Linked DNA regions of Homo sapiens: all the other regions are linked to region 3. The links are contacts of gene promoters, found by promoter capture Hi-C in blood cells and fetal thymus (Javierre and others, 2016). All regions are on one chromosome and are shown on one strand. The core of a region is centred on a gene start or on the middle of the fragment in contact, and the rest is flanking DNA. Distances in the headings are between cores, read along the strand shown. Region 1 overlaps MAST2 (microtubule associated serine/threonine kinase 2). Region 2 has its middle 4.4 kb from the start of MAST2. Region 3 holds the start of TSPAN1 (tetraspanin 1). Region 4 overlaps MAST2 (microtubule associated serine/threonine kinase 2). Region 5 has its middle 23 kb from the start of MAST2. Region 6 overlaps MAST2 (microtubule associated serine/threonine kinase 2). Region 7 overlaps IPP (intracisternal A particle-promoted polypeptide).

Region 1 (2,743 bases), core at 220-2,719, 350 kb after region 3:
GATGAAACAGTACCTATGGATCAAGGAGAAACCAGGGAAGGAAGCAGACTTTGGACTAATGCTGGTAATCCATTAAAGAGGGTTGGCCACTCACAAAGGTGACAAGCACAGCAAGAAGCTCTAGGTAGAGAGAACTGAGGAGGCCTTGGAAGACATCAAGCTAAAGTGGATATCCTCTATGAAGACAATGTGGAGAGGGAAAGATCCTATCTCAAAAAAACTTACAACCAGCTGCATGGGAGAACCAGCATTTGGATGCCTGCTACACTGTATGGATGAATAATCCGTCTTAGCCAGAGAAAGAACAATCAAGAAAGAATTTGATCAGTACCAATTAAGAGAAACACATACACTTTTCAATTTCCCTATTCCTTCCCACAAGACACCAAAGTAAAGAAACCAGATAACAGAGGAGAGGAGAAAAGAAAGAGAGGATCACACCCCTTCTTACTGCAAGTCTCTTCGAGTCAAAACCTGGCAAAGGAAAGGAAATATAAATTAAATATGAAATTTGAACTTTTAAGCTAGGATTTTTAACTTTTACTGAAGTACATTACTCATTTTAGAAAAGTACACATACCTAAGCATAGAACTCAATGAATTTTCACAAATTGAACAGACCCACTAAGCAGCATCAAGATTAAAACACTGAAAATAGCCAGGCACGGTGGCTCATGCCTGTAATCCCAGAACTTTGGGAGGCTGAGGTGGGTGGATCATTTGAGGTCAGGAGTTCAAGACCAGCCTGGCCAACATGGCAAAACCCCATCTCTACTAAAAATACAAAAATTAGCTGGGCGTGATGGCACGTGCCTGTAATCCCAGCTACTTGGGAGGCTGAGGCACAGGAATCGCGTGAACCTGGGAGGTGGAGGTTGCAGTGAGCAGAAATCACACCACTGCACTCCAGGCTGGGTGACAGAGCAACACTCTGTCACCAAAAAAAAAAAAAAAAAAAAGGTGAAGGTGAAACAATATATGAATATGGGAATTCTAGAAGAGAAGGGGGCAGTAAGAACATGTGAAGAGGCCGGGCACCATGGCTCACGCCTGTAATCCCAGCACTTTGAGAGGCCAAGGCGGGCAGATCATGAGGTTAGGAGTTTGAGACCAGCCTGGCCAACATGGTGAAACCCCGTCTCTAATAAAAATACAAAAATCAGCTGGCGTGGTGGTGCATGCCTGTAGTTCCAGCTACTCGGGAGGCTGAGGCACAGTTATGACTTGAACCCAAGAGGCAGAGGTTGCAGCGAGCCAAGATCCTGCCCTGCACTTCAGCCTGGGTAACAGAACGAGACTCTGTCTCAAAAAAAAAAAAAAAAAAAAAAAGAAGAAATAACATACCAAAACTTCCCAAATGTGATGACAGATACAAATCTACACATCCAAGAAGCTCCGTGACTTCTAAGCAGGTTAAATTCAAAAAGGTTCATATGGAGACACATGATAACCAAACTGTCAAAGCCAATGGCAAAGAAATAATATTCAAAGCAGCAAGAGAAAAGCAACTTGTCAAATACAGGAGATCCTGAATCAGACGAACAGCTCATATCTCATCAGAACTGTGGAGTCCAGAAGTGAGTAGGATGACATACGGAATTCTATCTTGAGCATAACTGTCCTTCAAAAATGAGGAAAAAATAAAGGCTGGGTGCAGTGGCTCACACCTGTAATCCCAACACTCTGGGAGGCCAAGGTAGGGAGATTGCTTGAGCCCAGGAGTTTGAGATCAGCCTGGGCAACATGGCGAAACTCTGTCTCTGCAAAACACATAAAAGTTAGCTGGGCATGGTGACATGTACCTGTGGTCCCAGCTACTCAGGAGGATGAGGCAAGAAAATTGCTTGAGCCCAGGAGGTCAACACTGCAGTGAGCCAAGATTGCACCACTACACTCCAGCCCGGGAAACAGAGCAAGACTCTGACTCAAAAAAAAAAAAAAAAAAAAAAAAGAGAAAGAAAGAGAAATTGAAATCGAGGCATTTTCAGATTAAGAAAAAAAAAAAAAAAAGCAGACAGAGTCCATCACCACTACATATGTTCTACATCAAATCCTAAAAGGCATCTTCAAGTTGAAATGAAAGGACACTAAACAGAAACTTAAGGCCATCTGAAAAAATGAAGATCCAAAAAATAAAAAATAAAGATCCCCAGCAAAGGTAACCATATGGACAAATATCACAGCCAGTATTATTCTATTTTTGTTTTTCAGCTCCACCTTTTTTCCCTATATGACTTAAAAGACAAAAGCATTAAAAAATTATAAATCTATGATATTTAGCACACAATGAATAAAGATGTAATCTGCCACAAAAACAACTTATCAAGGAAATGGAGCTATACAGGAATAAAGTTTTTGTATACTACAGAAGTTAAACTGGTACCATTTCAAACTAGACTGTTATAAATTTAGTATGTTACATGTAATCCCCATAGCAACCAAAAAAAAATTCTAAAAAACACACACAAAAGGAAGTGAGAAAAGATCCCCTTGATCCAGTTTTGCTTTGGTTGCCTCTGCATGTGGGGTATTTATTGCTCAAGAAATTTTTGCCCAAACCAATGTCCTAGCAAGTTTCCCCAAAGTTTTCTTTTAGTAGTTTCAGAGTTTGCAGTTTAAGATTTAAATCTTTAATACATTTTTGATTTTTGTATATGGGAAGAGATAGGGATCTAGTTTCACTCTTCTGCATGTAGATATCTGCATATAGATTTCCAGTTTTCCGAGAACCATTTATTGTACA
Region 2 (2,812 bases), core at 309-2,808, 380 kb after region 3:
GTCCAATCCTACAAGCAGGAGGAAATGAGTTCTCCTAACAGTGAGACTGAGCTTGGAAACAGGCCCTTCTCCAGTTGAGCACCCAGATGGGAACACAGCCCACACAACTTGGTGGAAGCCTGATGAGACCCTGAAGCAAAGAACCGAGCTAACACAAATCTAGACAGAAACTGTGAGATAATAAATGCATGTTATGTTAAGCTTCTAAGCTTGTGGTAATTATATATTTGTATTACATGTTAATACAAAACTAATACAGCCAGATACTTTCTCAGCCTCCCATCAGCCAGAAATGGCAATGTGACACAATGTGGCCCACATCCACTTTTTTTTTCTTTTTTTTTTTTTGTGATGGAGTCTTACTCTGTCACCCAGGCTGGAAGTGCAATGGCTCAATCTCCACTTACCACAACCTCCGCCTCCCAGGTTCAAGTGATTCTCCTGCTTCAGCCTCCAAGTAGCTAAGATTACTGGCGCATGCCACTGCACCCGCCTAATTTTTGTATTTTTAGTAGAGACGGGTTTCTCCATGTTGGCCAGGCTGGTCTTGAACTCCTGACTTCAGGTGATCTGCCCACCTCGGCCTCCTAACGTGCTGGGATTACAGGCGTGAGCCACCACGCCCGGCCCCACATCCACTTTTATACTTGTCTTCACCAGCTCAATAAGTGACAAGTCAATTTTTTTTTTCAGTTGCTCAGGCCAAAACCTCGGAGTGATCCCTGAGTTCTCTCTTTCTCACATACTTCATATCCACTCCACTGGCAAATCCTGTGCAAATTAGTAGGATATTATAATTAGCTGAGGGAGAGGTGTTAGTGACTAGTACTGAGACAATGATAACGGGGACGGACGAACACAGGTGGACTTTAGAGAGATCCAGAAAGTAGAAACCACAGGACCTGTTAACTGCATCAAAGGTGCAGAGAGAAAGAAAAAGCCCTAAGAATGATTTCCAAGTTTCTGGCTTGGACAACTGAGGTAGGGAACAGAAGAGGGAAAAAAAGTGTGAAACAGATTATGGTCAATTCCATTTTAGATGTGTTTGCTCTGAAGTGCCAGTGAGATATCCAAGTGAAGATGTCTAGTAAGCTACTGGTTACACCAGTGTAGAGCTCAGAACTGAGGGCCACCCATAGTTAGATGTTTAACCGATATGAACAATACCATACTCTTAGAATATAAATGTGATCACATTACTTTTCCTTATTCTAGTTAGGCCCCTTATGTCATATTATTAGGAAGCCTAGTATCTCCTCCTTAATTATCTAAGAACTCCAAAATTGTTTTATATTCTAAAAGTTAAGTATGGGCTGGGCACCGTGGCTCACACCTGTAATCCAGAACTTTAGGAGGCCAAGGTGGGATGATCACTTGAGCCCAAGATTTTTTTTAAAATTATTATTATTATTATACTTTAAGTTTTAGGGTACATGTGCACAATGTGCAGGTTAGTTACATATGTATACATGTGCCATGCTGGTGTGCTGCACCCATTAACTCGTCATTTAGCATTAGGTATATCTCCTAATGCTATCCCTTCCCCCTCCCCCCTGAGCTCAAGATTTTTGAGACCAGCCTAGGTGACATGGCAAAACCCCATCTCTACAAAAAATACAAAAACTAGCTGGGCATGGTGGCACATGCCTGTAGTCCCAGCTACTCAGGAGGCTGAAGTGGGAGGATCACTTGAGCGTGGGAGATGGAGGTTGTAGTCAGCCAAGATCACACAACTGCACTCCAGCTTGGGTGACAGAATGCGACCCTGTCTCAAAAAAAAAAAGGTAAGTATAGCAGTTATCTATTGTCATATAACAAACTGTCTCAAAACTTGTGGCTTAAAACAACAACCATTTATTTAGCTGACATTTTTGTGAGCCAACTGGGCAGTTCTTATGGTCTGGTCCAGTTTATCTAATCACTGCTAGGCTTGCTTATGCATCTGCAGTCGGCTGAGGGCTGGCTGGCTGGTGGCTAAGTCATCTAAAATGGCTTCTGTCACACATATGGCAATTGGCAGGCCATTGGCCATGGCAGTGGGAATGACTAACCCATATAGCTCTCACCATCCTTCAGGCTTACTTGGACTTCTTCACATGACAGCAGTGGTAGGGGGTCCTGTGAGGAGGAAGAGACAGCGAGCCGCAATGTGAAAGCACTTTTCAAATCTCTGTTGATGCCACATTAGCAACTGTGTCATTGCCAAAGCAAGTCAGTGTGGCCAGGGACTAAAGTTACATGGCAAGGGGGAATAGATTCAGGGAGGGGAAGAACTTGTGGCTGTCTTTGAAATCTACTTCAGGAAGATCAGTCCAACTTCCATAGCCAAATTCAGCTATAATTAGATCAGTCCATTGGCATCTTTGCTCCCTGGGACCATATTATGGACTGAATGTTTGTGTCTCCCCCAGATTTGTACGTCAAAGTCCTAACACCTAGTGTGGCTGTATTTGGAGATGAGGCCTCTAAGGAAGTAATTAAACTTAAATGAGGTTTTAAGGGTAGGGCCCTAATCCTATGAGATTAATGTCCTTATAAGCGGAGACACCAGAGCACTCACCCTCTCTCGAGGCACATGTACTGAGGAGGGCCATGTGAGAACATAGTGAGAAGACAGCTGTCTATGGGCCAGGAAGAGTGCCCCCACCAGAATCCAAATTGGCTAGAACCTTGATTTTGGATGTTCAGCCTCTAGAACTGTGAAAAAAATAAATTTCTGTTGTTTAAGCCACCTAATCTGTGTTCTTTTGTTATGGTAGCCCAAGCAGACTAACACAAACCACATAACATTACTTTCAAGAAAGGTCCTTCT
Region 3 (2,700 bases), core at 100-2,599:
CAGGGCATGCGTTCCCCCTACCGCAGGCCAGGTATGGGCTGGCCCAGGCCCCGATTTCCCAGGATGTTCAAGTGTAGCCGCAGAAGATATCAACAGGGTCTCCGAGGTCGAACTGCCAGCAGTGCAGCCATCAATCCTGCCACCAGGGCCATGGGTATCAACAACACCCACACTGACACCACCATAGTGTGGATCTTCCCACCTCAAGGTTAGCCAGGGGGCCTGTGAGCCAGGGTGGGGTTTTAAAAAACAGAGCCACTAGGCTGGGTGCGGTGGCTCATGCCTGTAATCCCGGCACTTTGGGAGGCCAAGGCGGGCAGATCACAAGGTCAGGAGATCGAGACCATCCTGGCTAACACGGTGAAATCCCATCTCTACTAAAAATACAAAAAAAAATTAGCCGGGCGTGGTGGCACACGCCTTTAGTCCCAGCTACTTGGGAGGCTGAGGCAGGAGAATTGCTTGAACCCGGGAGGCAGAGGTTGCAGTGAGCCAAGATCGCGCCACTGCACTCCAGCCTGGGTGACAGAGCTAGACTCTGTCTCAAGAAAAAAAAAAAAAAACCAGAGCCAGTGAAGATTTCCCTACCTGGTTCTGTTTAGGCACGCCAAAGGATGATCTCTGTGAAATAGCACCCCTACATATATGGGGGACTCCTGATGGCAGGCACCCCAAAGTGCTGACAGCCTTAATGGAGGATGGATTGGCTGGAAGCAGAGGGTTTGGGGAGGGGCTGAATCCAAGAGGCAGGGAACTTCCAGAACTGCTTCCTTCCTCAAACTCTTCCCTCTCCTTCCTCTCCTCAGTTCTCAGACATCTCAGGCAACCTGGGATTTTTCTGATCCTCTAGAAGTGCCCAGAAGCTAGCCCAGAAGCTTGGTTTGCCCTGGACCTGCATCTCCTAGGGGCCGTGTGGGTGGTGAACAACAAATACAGTCATTCTGCTCAAACTGCCTTATTCCACACAGAGGTGTTAACCAGCTGACTATGCAGGGCGTGAGGGGAGGGTTATGGCTGAATACTTACAGGGAAAGGCTTCAGTGACCGCAGCAGGGATCATAGTTTAAGACAGCAGGAGGACAGGACAAGGTCAGCAACATAGACCATCTTTGGTCTCAGCTCTTGATCTGCCCCATGAAGTAGGGGCTCTCTTGCCTTACACTCCTAACTGCACAGGGAGAAGGGTCTCTGTAAACATCTTGGAAGGTATTGGGAGGCACAGATCAGAGAGGGATAGGATGAAAGACTGAACCCTGAGAGTACACAAGTATGAGGTGGATGTGAGGTGGATGTGCCTCTGTGTGCCTGTGATGGTCAGCGTGTAGGTGTAGCTGCTGGTGTGTGTGTCTGAGGCCGGGAGAATAGGAGTATCAGTAGATGTGGCTGAATGTGCCTTTGTGATTTAATGTGCCTCTGTGACTGACTGTGAGTGTCAAGGAGCGTTTGTGAGGGTATGGGTGTGCCGGAGAGGACATCAGCCCTGGTAAGAAAAGTGAAGGTCAGGAGGGGGATGGGGAACAGCCTAAAGGAGGAGAACATGGAGAAGGGTGAGATTCTGAGAAAGGCATACTACCTTCGGCCCTTCAACCATTCTCTGAGGTCAGTGTTTTCCAGAACTGGCAGCTGAGCTGGGGTGCTTAGGGGTGGGGCAAGACTGAGTTTGAGCCCAGAAAGTAGGGAGGGTGCTAAGCTCTCTGGCCTGGGGATTTTCCATTTGGATTTCTGAGTGTGTGCTCATGTGTCACTGGCTGTAACCGGGTTTCTGTGGGGTTGTGTCTTAGTCGCTGGGAACATTTTGTAGGACTCTGTCTCGAATATGTTGCATCATGCATGGGCTAATACGTGTTGCACCGGTCCGAGATCTGGCTGCATTTCCAGGCTACCTTCCCAAGGGGCTAGGGAAGGGAGTGAACCCTGAGACCTTTGGTGGCCTGGCCCCCTGGGGTTCAGGAAGTGTGGCTAATGTCCTTTGCTGCCTGTGAAGGGAAAGTGAATTGTGCTTATGTCTATCTACCCCAACTCTTGCCAGAGACTGGGACCCTGAGGGGGGTTGAGGCAGAGAATTCACTGACACACCATGCCCAGACGGTGCTGGGCTCCTCAGGTTATGGGATGGGGGTTGCTGAACATCAGTCAAAGCTAGAAGGTGCTTGGGCCATGCTCAAGGGCCCAAGAGGGGCCATACATATAAAGATACATGACACAGTTCACAAACACATGCAGACATGTAAATATAAGTGAACTCATAGACACATACTGCAACAACCACACACATGCATGCAAGCACATACTATAAGCAGATATACGCAGACACAAATGCATAGATCCCCACACGATATATGTAACAACACATACGCATGCCTCTAAATGAACACAGACAGAAACATGCATGCACCCAGACACAAGCACACAAGCACCCAGATGCAGACACATGCCTTCACACTCATGCAAACCCAGGCACACACAGACATACACGCATGCAGACACACTCACCAGACTTCCCTGCCCCTGCGGCCCTGGGACCCAGAAGCCTCCCTCCCCTATATGAGTGTGTAGTATGTGTGTGTGCATGCACTCATGCCCACACTTGTGTCTGTGTGTATCTGTGTCTGTGAGAGTGTGTGTTTGTGCTCGAGTGTGTGTATGATGGGGGTGCTAAGCTGTGGGAACCAGATGACATCATCTCTTCCAGCTATTTTT
Region 4 (2,700 bases), core at 133-2,632, 310 kb after region 3:
ACAAAGCATGAAAAAAATAATCATCAAATTTGGCATGTATTCTTTTAGTGCTAAGGATATTCATTAAAACTCAGTTGAAGGTTGCCTATCAGTCTATTTTCATTCACTGTTATATCTTACATACCTCTTCATCTAACAAACTACCTATGATTTAAGAAGGAAAAGATGGTAGGTAGGTAGGTAGGTAGACAGACAGACGGATGGATGGACAGACAACACAGACAGACAATAGATAAGTGGATGGAATGTGTATATGCCAAGTGATAATTTAGAAAAGTTCTTAAAACTATGCATAGAATCAAGCATATACTACCATACATGTGACTTAATGGTGGGCAGATCAGGCATGGTGGTCAGGAACAGAATATGTTCACCGTAAACAATCTGTCAGCAGTAATGTCTAATGTTCTAAATTAGGCTTGTATCCCATACAGGTCTGATTTAGTTGCTCTACTCACTAAATACAGTGTAAATAAGCCCAAGCAGCATTTTTCTATCAAAATAGCAAGATTTTAGATAAGTTCTCTAATTATAACTATACATCAAAGAATAAAGAGGAACTTAGCTGCACTCCACTCTGCCTCCTACCTCAAATGAATTAAATACATTATAACAATCTGTTCAGTACATTTACAAGAGACATTAAAAGGAAGGAGATCAGTGAAAAAGGTTTTCTTTTACTCACCTGTAACCCTCTCCTTCTCAGAATACTGGAATCATCCATAATAGATATCAGACAAAAAAAAGCCACTCCCCAGACAGTCAACTACTAGTGCCTACTTACTGCTGGATAAAGAGGCAAACAATCCTTTCAGCACACCACTAACCCACTGTTCCACTAAACCAGTTATCCCTCTGTCCAGCGTAAGTATACAATCACTGCCTCATATCAGAATCACGTCTTTCTTCACAGAAGTATAGATACATCTCATCTGAAGCACTGCCAAATAGCGGAAAGACTTCATATTTGTTTTCATTTTCCATGCATACCCCTTTGGTTGAAATTATTTGAAGTACTAAGAAAAGAACAAAAGGTTCCGGGGGAAAAATTCCAATCTTTGATATCCTGACTTTGCTGCTTATTAAAAAGGTTTAGCAAACAAAACAAGAGTCTCCACCTACAGCTACTAAGCTTATAAAATCCATGTCACGTTTTCCTTTCCAGAAACAAAACCACTCCACATACGTTTTTAAAAAGATGACAATTCTTCAGAAATACAAAGAAAAACATACGATTCTGATGCCTGTATTTTAGACTCAAAATGATATAAAACCAGTTATTGTTTTGACTAAGTCGGCAAAATTCCTTTCATCCTTTGTACAGACAAAGCAAATGTCAGATTCTTTCGATACTGTCAGGGGCTCTTTTGTTTCTTTATCGCTAGACTCACTGGTCTTCACTTCTTGGACAGTAACGAAAGCCTCTTTCTTCAGGAGCTAGATCATTGCTAAGGTCGGTTTCCCTGCTCTTTTATGTGCAGGAGGGGGCTAGTCCACGTGTTGTGAGTTCTGAGCATGGACAAATTCATTCAGCTGTTTATCACTTACAGTGCTGTCACAGGAAACGCTCCCCATTCCCCCAGACTTCTAAAAGGGCACAGCATGAAAAAGTCTCATTTTATCCAAGCTTTAATGATCTCAAGAATTGTTTCTTTGGTTACTGGCTGCCATTTTTAAAGTAGAACTTCAGCCAAGTTTAAAGATGCTTCTGTTTCTTAATTCATGGCTCAAAATACATAATCTTTTAGATTTTAAGAGTGAAAGATTGTTCTCATGATATGATTCTGTTCCTTACACACTCCATAAGCAACGTTTAAACTTTCCAACTTTATGGTAATTGTCAGAATCTTAGTAAACACAAAGGAAAGTTGCTGATCTTTCTAACAAGTCACACACACAAAATTGTTAGTGAAGGCAGCATTATATTTTTAGGAAGTGAGTTTAACACATTAAATTCAATCATTTTTTCCAAACTATAAGACATGCTACAATAATTACTCTCCTACAAAATTCAGGAGACACGAATCCAAATTCCCTAATTTGACAGATAAAGGTATGTATAAAGCACACAATCAGCCAGTTATACTACCTAAGGTGTAAATATAGCAATAGCTAAAGGCCAGATTCAGTCTGCACCCAAAAAGGAAGAAAAGCAGTCCCTCCTATAATTATGACAGCTGCAACCAACAGTCTAGGGCTTGAAGGAAAGTCTATTTACAAGATCATTTTCTGGTCTTTTTACAACTGATTATAGTCATAAGAAATTGCCACACTGCTGAAAATAGCACAAAAAACAGGATCCATGTCCCTTTCATTCAGCAGAAATCTTCTAATCCTTAGCATAACCAGTGTGGTCTTTCATTGTGAGAGCTAATAAATCCACATTTCCACGGATTCCTTCTCCCATCTGCTGCTTTGAATAACTAACGGCTGGATTATGTCTATGGGGAAAACAAACACAAGACCTGAACAGACAGCTGATTTGCATAGGGTATGCTGTACACTGTATGAGTGTCTGCAAAGTCATAGGCCTTTAAAGTCATAGAACTCCTCTATCAAAATAGGTTTAACTAGCTAAAACATATGTATCAGCAGAGAGGAAGTAGGAGTGGCTTCTAATTTATTCAACCCGGTAATCAGTAAAAATATAAAAAAGATGCATTCTGAGAAGCTATTCAGACAAAAGATTCAAAATTCAAA
Region 5 (2,700 bases), core at 39-2,538, 390 kb after region 3:
CCAAAGTGCTGGAATTACAGGTGTGAGCCACCTCGCTTGGCCCCAAAAGCTTCTTAAGCTGATAAACAACTTCAGCAAAGTTTCAGGATACAAAATCAATCACTAGCAGAAAGCACTAGCATTCCTATCCACCAACAACATCAGGTGTCTGGGCTTCCACAGCTTCTTCTTCTTGAAGTAAGTATCAATAAGATGTTTGGGGATTTTTACATTGCCGATATCAATTTTGGTTGAGGTGGCAATGACAAATTTCTGGTATGTTCTTCGTAGAGGAATTCGATTGAGGACCAGAGGTCCAGTCACAAGTAACAAACCACTAGCCAGCTGCTTCAGGAAAACCACCTTCTTGCCCCTATGGCATCCAGCGAGGATGATGAGAATGGTCCCGGGAGTGATGCTGGCTCGCAGTTTTCTCACGTGCTGACTGAAGGATTTTTTGCCATGGCTCAACAGCTTTCGAGGCACATCTTCAGTAGGATAATATCTAGGCATTTTGCGAAGTTTAACCACCCGGGCACCGCCATTCTTGTCACAACCAACTGGTTTTGTAACAGTTGCAAGAACCTTCTCCTTCTTTTTCTTTTCAACCTTAGATTTAGCGGCTGAGTACTTCCTCTTGTACATGGCCTTTCTGGAATACATGGCAGATCGGCAATACCTGCCAATTCCTCTGACAAGGACAGGGTTGCGGCTGCAATGGGGCTTTCCCTTCTTGGGCTTTTTAGCCTTGAGGTTACCCTTTTTCACCTTGCCACCAACATCAGCCTTCTTGGCTTTGGGTTTCTTCTCTTTAGCATCTGGCTTCTCAACTTTTTCACCCACCATCTTGCAAGATGGGAAACAAGTGTCTGCATTTCTTCCAGTCTGCCCACACCTGTTCTCCAGCCACTGCTGTCTCCTGCCTGGTTCCCCTCTCTGCCCTGCCACCAGTTCTTCTGGTCCTCTTCTCCTCCCTGGGAGCCATAGCTGCCTTTGGGCTATACAGGTCTCCCAGCTCTGTTTTCTGGAAAGACAATATTTGTAGAGAAAGTTCAGAGGTCCTCATTAGCAGGAGTCAACACCGCAGCAGTCTATATTGCAGAACAGAAGCTGGGCACTTACATGTGGTATCAAAGCATCAGCTGCCTGGAGAACTTTTCTTTGCTAGTGCTGCAGATAGAGCATGCAGTTATGCAGACCAAAGTTTCATTCTCCTGCCCTGCATCTCTCCATGATTTCACCCGCCCCACCCACAGACTCCAATACACAATTCAATCATTGCATTTTGTGTATGGTGTTGTCATTATCTATCTCCCCCTTAAAGTACTAACTCCGGCCGGGTGTGGTGGCTCACGCCTGTAATCCCAACACTTTGGGAGGCTGAGACGGGTGGATCATCTGACATCAGGAGTTCGAGATGAGCCTGACCAACATGGCGAAACCCCATCTCTACTAAAAATACAAAAAAATTAGCTGGGCACGGTGGCAGGCGCCTGTAATCCCAGCTACTTGGGAGGCTGAGGCAGGAGAATCGCTTGAACCCGGGAGGCGGAGGTTGCAGTGTGCTGAGATTGCACCACTGCACTCCAGCCTGGGAGACAGAGCGAGACTTCATCTCAAAAAAAAAAAAAGGACCAACTCCTTGAGGACAGGGACTATGTCTACCTTGTTTATCTCTGCGTCTTCAGTACTATTAAATTCCTCTCCTAGATTTCCTCTGCTAACACTTCCTTGGATCCTCTTAGATTAGCTCCCTCACTGGGGAAAATAAAAAATAAAGGCTATAGGTAGAATAGAGGTTCAAGAAGAACCATTTGTCATCTACAAAGCTAAATAACAAGAGCAGTAAGTTTGTTTTGTTTTGTTTTTGAGACCAAGTCTCACTCTGTTGCTCAGGCTGGAGTGCAGTGGCACAATCTCAGCTCTGCTTCCTCTGCTTCCCAGGTTCAAGTGATTCTAGTGCTTCAGCCTCCCAAGTAGCTGGGACTACAGGCATGTGCCACCACGTCTGGCTAATTTTCGTATTTTTAGTAGAGACAGGGTTTTGCCATGTTGGCCAGGCTGGTTGTGAACTCCTGGCCTCAGGTGATCCATCCGCCTCAGCCTCCCACAGTACTGGGATTACAGGTGTAAGCCACTGTGCCTGGCCTAGAACAGTAAGATTTTTTAACTGAGCCCTGAATTTACAAGGCTTATGGTGAAAGGAATCTAACATTTTCTAAGTGCCTACTAACTACTAGGCATCTGTCTTATTCAATACTCTCTCATTTACTTGGTTTCTCTCCACCGTAGGAAAGATGGTAGCCAGCAGCCCCAGGCTTACATTATCTCAGACAAGATCCTGCAATGAAAAAGGAGAGGGATTCTCTCTCGCAGTATATAGATTAAGCCAATAAAAGATTCTGATTAGCTCTCTTGGGTTACATGTGCCCTGTGGACCCATTACTGCACCAGGGAGATGAAATACTATGACAGATGTGGCTGAGTTACGTGTCCTATGACAAAGAGGGGCAAGTTATTATCCAAACAAATGGGGTAGGAAAGCTTGATGGGCAGTAAAAGAGCATTAGTTTACACAGCTATGAAGTATTAAAGCAAGTCGCGCGTGGTGGCTCACTCCTGTAATCCCAGCACTTTGGGAAGCTGAGGCAGGTGGATCACCTGAGGTCAGGAGTTCGAGACCAGCCTTGCCAACATAGTGAAACCCCATCTCTACTAAAA
Region 6 (2,700 bases), core at 23-2,522, 330 kb after region 3:
TTCAGCATCATGAAAAACATAAATGTTGTACAATGTTTTTCCTAAAAAACTTGTTAAATACAAGTATCCTTAATATGTTTTTAAAAGAGCACAATGCAGGTGTATTTGAGTCTCTTCAAGAAAATAATAAAAACATTAATGCTGTATTAGGTTAACTGGATATCAACTAAGTCTTGTTAACAGTTTAAAGTATCATAACTTTTTTTAACCTCTGAAAATTAAAAATAAAATTTATTTCTGCAATTTCAAAAAAGAAAAAGGAAAAAAACAAAAAGACTAGCACTGATATTTTTTGTATAAGAGTAAAAACAAAACCTGCTCTTATAACTTTTTACTAGTGGTTTAATAATGCCGTTCTCCTTGACATATATGACACCTTACCAAAAACTTGCATAAACGTTCTCCCATGTATTCTAACCATCAACAAATTCAGTAAGATCTCTTTCTGTAACCTCAACTGCTATGGTATGAATGTGTTCCCCAAAATCCATGTGCTGGAAATTTAATTTCCAATGCAACAGTGGTGGGAGATTTGGCCTTTTGAGAGGTGTTTAAGTCATGAAAGCTCTGTTCTCATGAATGGATTAATGTCACTATAAAAAGGGCTTACAGGAATGGATTTCTTCTCTATTGCCCTTCCACCTTCTGCCACGTGAGGAAACACCAAGAAAGCCCTCATCAGATGCTGGTACCTTGATCTTGGGCTTCTGAGCCCCAAGAACTCTAAGAAATAAACCTTGATTCCTTATAAATTACCCAGTTTCGAGTATTCTGTCATAGCAGCACAAAACGGACGAACAAACCAATCAACCAACAAATTTATCTAAAAAAATTTTTTATTTTAAATGCCTTTTAAAAATTTAGATGCTTGGCAGGTGCAGTGGCTCACAACTGTAATCCCGATAGTTTGAAGTCTGAGGCAGGATTGCTTGAGCCCAGGGGTTCGAGACCAAACTGGGAAACACTGTAAAATCCCACCTCTACAAAAAGTTTAAAAATAAAAATTAAGCTGGCCGCGGTGGCTCACACCTATAATCTCAGCACTTTGGGAAGCCGAGGCAGGTGGATCACTTGAGGCCAGGAGTTTGGGACCAGCCTGGCCAACATGGTGAAACACCATCTCTACTAAAAATACAAAAAATTAGCTGGGCATGGTGGCAGGCGCCTGTAATCCCAGCTACTCAGGAAACTGAAGCAGGAGAATCACTTGAACCTGGGAGTCGGAGGTTGCAGTGAGTCACTGCACTCCAGCCTGGGCAGCAAGAGTGAAACTCTGTCTCAAAAAATAAATAAATAAAAGTTTAAAAATAAATAAAAATAAAAATTAGCCAGGCATCGTGGCCCATGCCTGTAGTCCCAACTACTCAGGAGGCTGAGGCAGGAGAATCACTTGACCCTAGCAGGTTGACACTGCGGTGAGCCAAGGTTGCACCACTGCACTCCAGCCTGGGTGACAGAGCAAGATCCTGTCTCAAAAACAAAAACAAAAAAAAGTAAGGCTGTCTATAATTTTTGTAAGACAAATTCAAGATAAGAAAAAAATTTGACGTCACTATTTTTAAGGTATCTTAAATTCTTTACAAATTAACACAAAAGAGATGATAAAAATGCTTAACTATTCAAGATGAAATTCAGCTCCGAATTTGTTCAGGCAAAGTATTTAATGTGTTCTTTTACTTCTCTCTTAAGGATGCTCTTGAGAGTAAGCTAAGACTGCCAATATACTGCTCAAGTCTCATGAAATTTCAAAACTTTTATTTTAAAACCTCTTAACATTACTCATATACCCTTCAAAAGACACTAGATGGCATTAGAAACAAGTTCCTCTTACAAAAAGAAAAACTAAGAGTGAAAAGGACAGCAATTCTCAAGTGAATGCACTTTATCTAAACTCCTACAGTTCTTATCTAAGTTGAATACTTCACTGTCTAACATTATCTATCCTTTCACATGTAATTTTTTCATGTTCCCCTACATTCCTTTTATTTCTCTTTACTCTCTCCCATGGTGATTTAATCCACAGCTTCCAAGTCCACATCTATAGCCCTAAACTGCTGTACTTTACTCTGGACATCTAACTCTTGAAAGGATACCTAAAAAGTGATATCCACATGCAAAAAAATAAACTCTTGCCTCACACTGAATATAAAAACTGACTCAAAATGGGTCGATGAAGTAAATATAAGAAGTAAAACCATAAAATTCATAGAAGAAAACACAGAAGTAAATCATGACCTTGGAGCTGGCAATGGATTCTTAGATATGAAACCAAAAGCATAAGCAATAACAGAAAAACACAGATAAGTTAGACTTCATCAAGGGCATTTTTAAACTTCAAAGGACATTACCAACAAACTAAAAAGACAACACACAGAACAGGAAAAAAATTTGGAAATCATATAACTAAGGGTCTAATACCCAGAATATATAACAAACTTAAAACAACAAAAAAATTCAATTAAAAAAAATGGGCAAAGGACTTGTATAGACATTTTTCCAAAGAAGATATATAAATGGTCAAAAAACACATGAAAAGATGCTCAACATCATTAGTCATTACAGAACTACAAATCAAAACCACAATGAGGTACCACTTCATACTCACCAGGATAGTATAACTAAACAATAATTTTTTAAATGGAATATAACAAGTTGACAAAGATATAGAGAAACTGAAACCTTCAGTACATTGCTAGTGGA
Region 7 (2,700 bases), core at 124-2,623, 460 kb after region 3:
CAAGGCTGCAGTGAGCTGTGATCAAGCCATTGTGCTCCAGCCTCGGTAACAGCAAGAGACCCTCTCTCAAAAGAGTAATTTTTTTTTTTTGAGACGGAGTTTTTCTTTTGTTGCCCAAGCTGGAGTGCAGTGGCACCATCTCACCTCACCACAACCTCCGCCTCCTGGGTTCAAGCAATTCTCCTGCCTCAACCTCTTGAGTAGCTGGGATTTCAGGCATGCGCCACCATACCTGGCTAGTTTTATATTTTTAGTGGAGACGGGGTTTCTCTATGTTGGTCAGGCTGGTTTCGAACTCCCTACCTCAGGTGATCCGCCCGCCTCAGCCTCCCAAAGTGCTGGGATTACAGGCATGAGCCACTGCACCCAGCTGAATTTTTTTTTTTCTATGGTTAGGGTCTCGCTATGTAACCCAGACTGATCTCAAACTCCTGGTCTTAAGCGATTCTCCTGCCTTGGCATCCCAAAGCACTGGCATTACAGATCTTTCGGAGCCACTGCGCTCCCCAAATCCCAACAATCTCAGCTCTTTTTTTCTAGATTCTTAAAGTGGAAGCTTAGATGATCGATTTTAGACCTTCCTTTTTCTATAATAGAAACTGTAAATTCTCTTCAAGCACTGCTTTAATTTCATCCCACATATTTTGATATGTTGCCTTTTAATTAGTTGGCATTTATATTAAAATATTTTTTAGGTCAGGTGTGGTGGCACATGCCTGTAAACCCAGCACTTTGGGAGCCCAAGGCGGATGGTGTGTATATATATATATATTTTTTTTTTTTTTCTTTTTTTTTTTGAGATAGAGTCTCTGTCACCCAGGCTGGAGTACAGTGGTGTGATCTGGGCTCACTACAAGCTCCGCCTCCTGGGTTCACGCCATTCTCCTGCCTCAGCCTTCCAGTAGCTGGGACTGCAGATGCCCGCCACTACGCCTGGCTAATTTTTGTTGTATTTTTAGTAGAGACAGGGTTTCACCATGTTAGCCAGGATGGTCTCGATCTCCTGACCTCGTGATCTTCCTGCCTCGGCCTCCCAAAGTGCTGGGATTACAGGCATGAGCCCACCGTGCCCGGCCTTTTTTTTCTTTTTTAAATTTTTCTGGTAATTTCTTGTTTGACTAATGGGTTGTAAGAACAACATTATTTAATTTAAAAATATGTGGGGATTTTCCAGATAAATCTTTTATTATTGACTTCTAATTTATTTCTATTATAATCAGAAAACATATTTTGTATTGCTTCTGTCTTATTAATACGTCATGTACATCTGAAAAGAATTTGTATTCTGCTATTGTTGAATGTGGTGTTCTAATGTCCATTAAGTCAAGTTGGTTGCTTTTTTTTTTTTTTTTAGACGTCGTCTTGCTCAGTCACCAGGCTGCTCAGCTCACTGCAAACTTGGCCTCCCAGGTTCAAGTGATTCTCCTGCCTCAGCCTCCCGAGTAGCTGGGATTACAGGCACGCGCCACCATGCCTGGTTGATTTTTGTATTTTTTTAGTAGAGCCAGGGTTTCACCATGCTGGCCAGACTGGTCTCGAACTCATGACCTCAAGCAATCCACCCGACTCGGCCTTCCAAAGTGCTGGAATTACAGGTGTAAGCCACCACTCCTGGCCTCAAGTTGGTTTTTTAGTGTCATTCAGATCTTCCCTTGTCTGTCCTACTTGCACAATTGTTCTGTCAGTTTTTAAAAAAGGAGTGTTGGAATGTCCATCTATAATTATGGATTTGTCTGTTTCTCCTTTCATTTCTGTCAGGTTTAGCTTCACATATTTTGAAGATCCATTATTAGATGCGTACCCATTAAGTTTATTATGTCTTCTTAATGAATGGATTCTTTGATTTTTATCTCTGGTAATATTCTTTATACTGAAGTCTACTTTTTTTTTTTTTTTTGTGACAGAGTCTTACTCTGACGCCTAAGCTAGAGTACAGTGGCATGATCAGAGCTCACTGCAACCTCTGTCTCCTGGGTTCAAGCGATTCTTGTGCCTCAACCACCCACGTAGCTGGGAATACAGGCATGTGCCACCACACCCAGCTACTTTTTGTATTTTTAGTAGAGATGGGGTTTTGCCGTGTTGGCCAGACTGGTCTCAAACTCCTGACCTCAAGTGATCTGCCCACCTTGGCCTCCCAAAGTGCTAGGATTACAGGTGTGAGCCATTGCACCCAGCCTCTAAGCTTTCTTTTCATTAGTGTTTTCATGGTATATTTTATCTTCTTCTTTCCTTCTACTTCTGTGTCTTTACAAACTGCACTTCTAGACAGCACATAGTTGTGGTCTGGTTTTTTTTGTTTTTTGTTTTGAGACGGAGTTTTCACTCTGTTGCCAGGCTGAAGTGCAATGGCGTGATCTTGGCTCACTACAACCTCCGCCTCCCAGGTTCAAGCAATTCCCTGCCTCAGCCTCCCGAGTAGCTGGGACTACAAGCACCCGCCACCATGCCTGGCTAATTTTTTTTTTCTTTTCTATTTTAGTAGAGATGGGGTTTCACCATGTTGGCTGGGATGGTCTCCATCTCCTGACCTCGGGATCCACCCACCTCGGCCTCCCAAAGTGCTAGGATTATAGGCGTGAGCCACTGCACCCAGCCAGTTGTGGTCTTTTTTTTTTTGTTTGTTTGTTTTGAGACGGAGTCTCGCTCTGTCACCCAGGCTAGAGTGCAGTGGTACAATCTCAGCTCACTGCAACCTCC

What was found. Contacts are between HindIII fragments. The CHiCAGO score rates a contact against its expected background, and 5 or more counts as called.
Region 1: a fragment that was not itself captured here is called in contact with the fragment with the promoter of TSPAN1 in region 3 in 2 of 17 cell types (M1 macrophages and M2 macrophages); the score reaches 5.2 in M1 macrophages.
Region 2: a contact is called between a fragment that was not itself captured here and the fragment with the promoter of TSPAN1 in region 3, in 1 of 17 cell types (M1 macrophages). The highest score is 5.9, in M1 macrophages.
Region 4: a fragment that was not itself captured here is called in contact with the fragment with the promoter of TSPAN1 in region 3 in 2 of 17 cell types (M0 macrophages and erythroblasts); the score reaches 6.2 in M0 macrophages.
Region 5: a contact is called between a fragment that was not itself captured here and the fragment with the promoter of TSPAN1 in region 3, in 1 of 17 cell types (M1 macrophages). The highest score is 6.3, in M1 macrophages.
Region 6: a fragment that was not itself captured here is called in contact with the fragment with the promoter of TSPAN1 in region 3 in 2 of 17 cell types (M1 macrophages and M2 macrophages); the score reaches 5.9 in M1 macrophages.
Region 7: a fragment that was not itself captured here is called in contact with the fragment with the promoter of TSPAN1 in region 3 in 1 of 17 cell types (erythroblasts); the score reaches 5.4 in erythroblasts.

Annotation. Positions count from the first base shown.
Region 1 is chr1:45,820,102-45,822,844 of GRCh38, reverse strand. The region is part of intron 1 of MAST2 (microtubule associated serine/threonine kinase 2); the gene reads right to left. Among named protein-coding and RNA genes, the nearest start is that of MAST2, 18 kb to the right of the region's middle. RefSeq lists a silencer at 201-401. The HindIII fragment of the contact is 3,835 bases long and covers 1-2,743 here.
Region 2 is chr1:45,797,834-45,800,645 of GRCh38, reverse strand. No RefSeq gene overlaps it. Among named protein-coding and RNA genes, the nearest start is that of MAST2, 4.4 kb to the left of the region's middle. The HindIII fragment of the contact is 2,693 bases long and covers 212-2,812 here.
Region 3 is chr1:46,173,736-46,176,435 of GRCh38, reverse strand. It overlaps TSPAN1 (tetraspanin 1), which reads right to left and starts at 1,349. Exons shown (of 9, transcript NM_005727.4): 1 at 1,027-1,349. P3R3URF-PIK3R3 (P3R3URF-PIK3R3 readthrough) reads left to right here. Exons shown (of 10, transcript NM_001303427.2): 1 at 1-208. P3R3URF (PIK3R3 upstream open reading frame) reads left to right here. Exons shown (of 2, transcript NM_001328655.2): 1 at 1-208; 2 at 807-950. The coding sequence ends at 850. It also overlaps a transcript of PIK3R3 not described here. The HindIII fragment of the contact is 4,826 bases long and covers 878-2,700 here.
Region 4 is chr1:45,863,125-45,865,824 of GRCh38, reverse strand. All of the region lies in intron 3 of MAST2 (microtubule associated serine/threonine kinase 2), which reads right to left. Among named protein-coding and RNA genes, the nearest start is that of MAST2, 61 kb to the right of the region's middle. The HindIII fragment of the contact is 495 bases long and covers 1,135-1,629 here.
Region 5 is chr1:45,779,402-45,782,101 of GRCh38, reverse strand. It overlaps the pseudogene RPL6P1. Among named protein-coding and RNA genes, the nearest start is that of MAST2, 23 kb to the left of the region's middle. The HindIII fragment of the contact is 2,474 bases long and covers 52-2,525 here.
Region 6 is chr1:45,842,891-45,845,590 of GRCh38, reverse strand. All of the region lies in intron 3 of MAST2 (microtubule associated serine/threonine kinase 2), which reads right to left. It also overlaps the pseudogene TMA16P2. Among named protein-coding and RNA genes, the nearest start is that of MAST2, 41 kb to the right of the region's middle. The HindIII fragment of the contact is 8,479 bases long and covers 1-2,700 here.
Region 7 is chr1:45,710,951-45,713,650 of GRCh38, reverse strand. All of the region lies in intron 8 of IPP (intracisternal A particle-promoted polypeptide), which reads left to right. Among named protein-coding and RNA genes, the nearest start is that of TMEM69, 24 kb to the right of the region's middle. The HindIII fragment of the contact is 1,629 bases long and covers 559-2,187 here.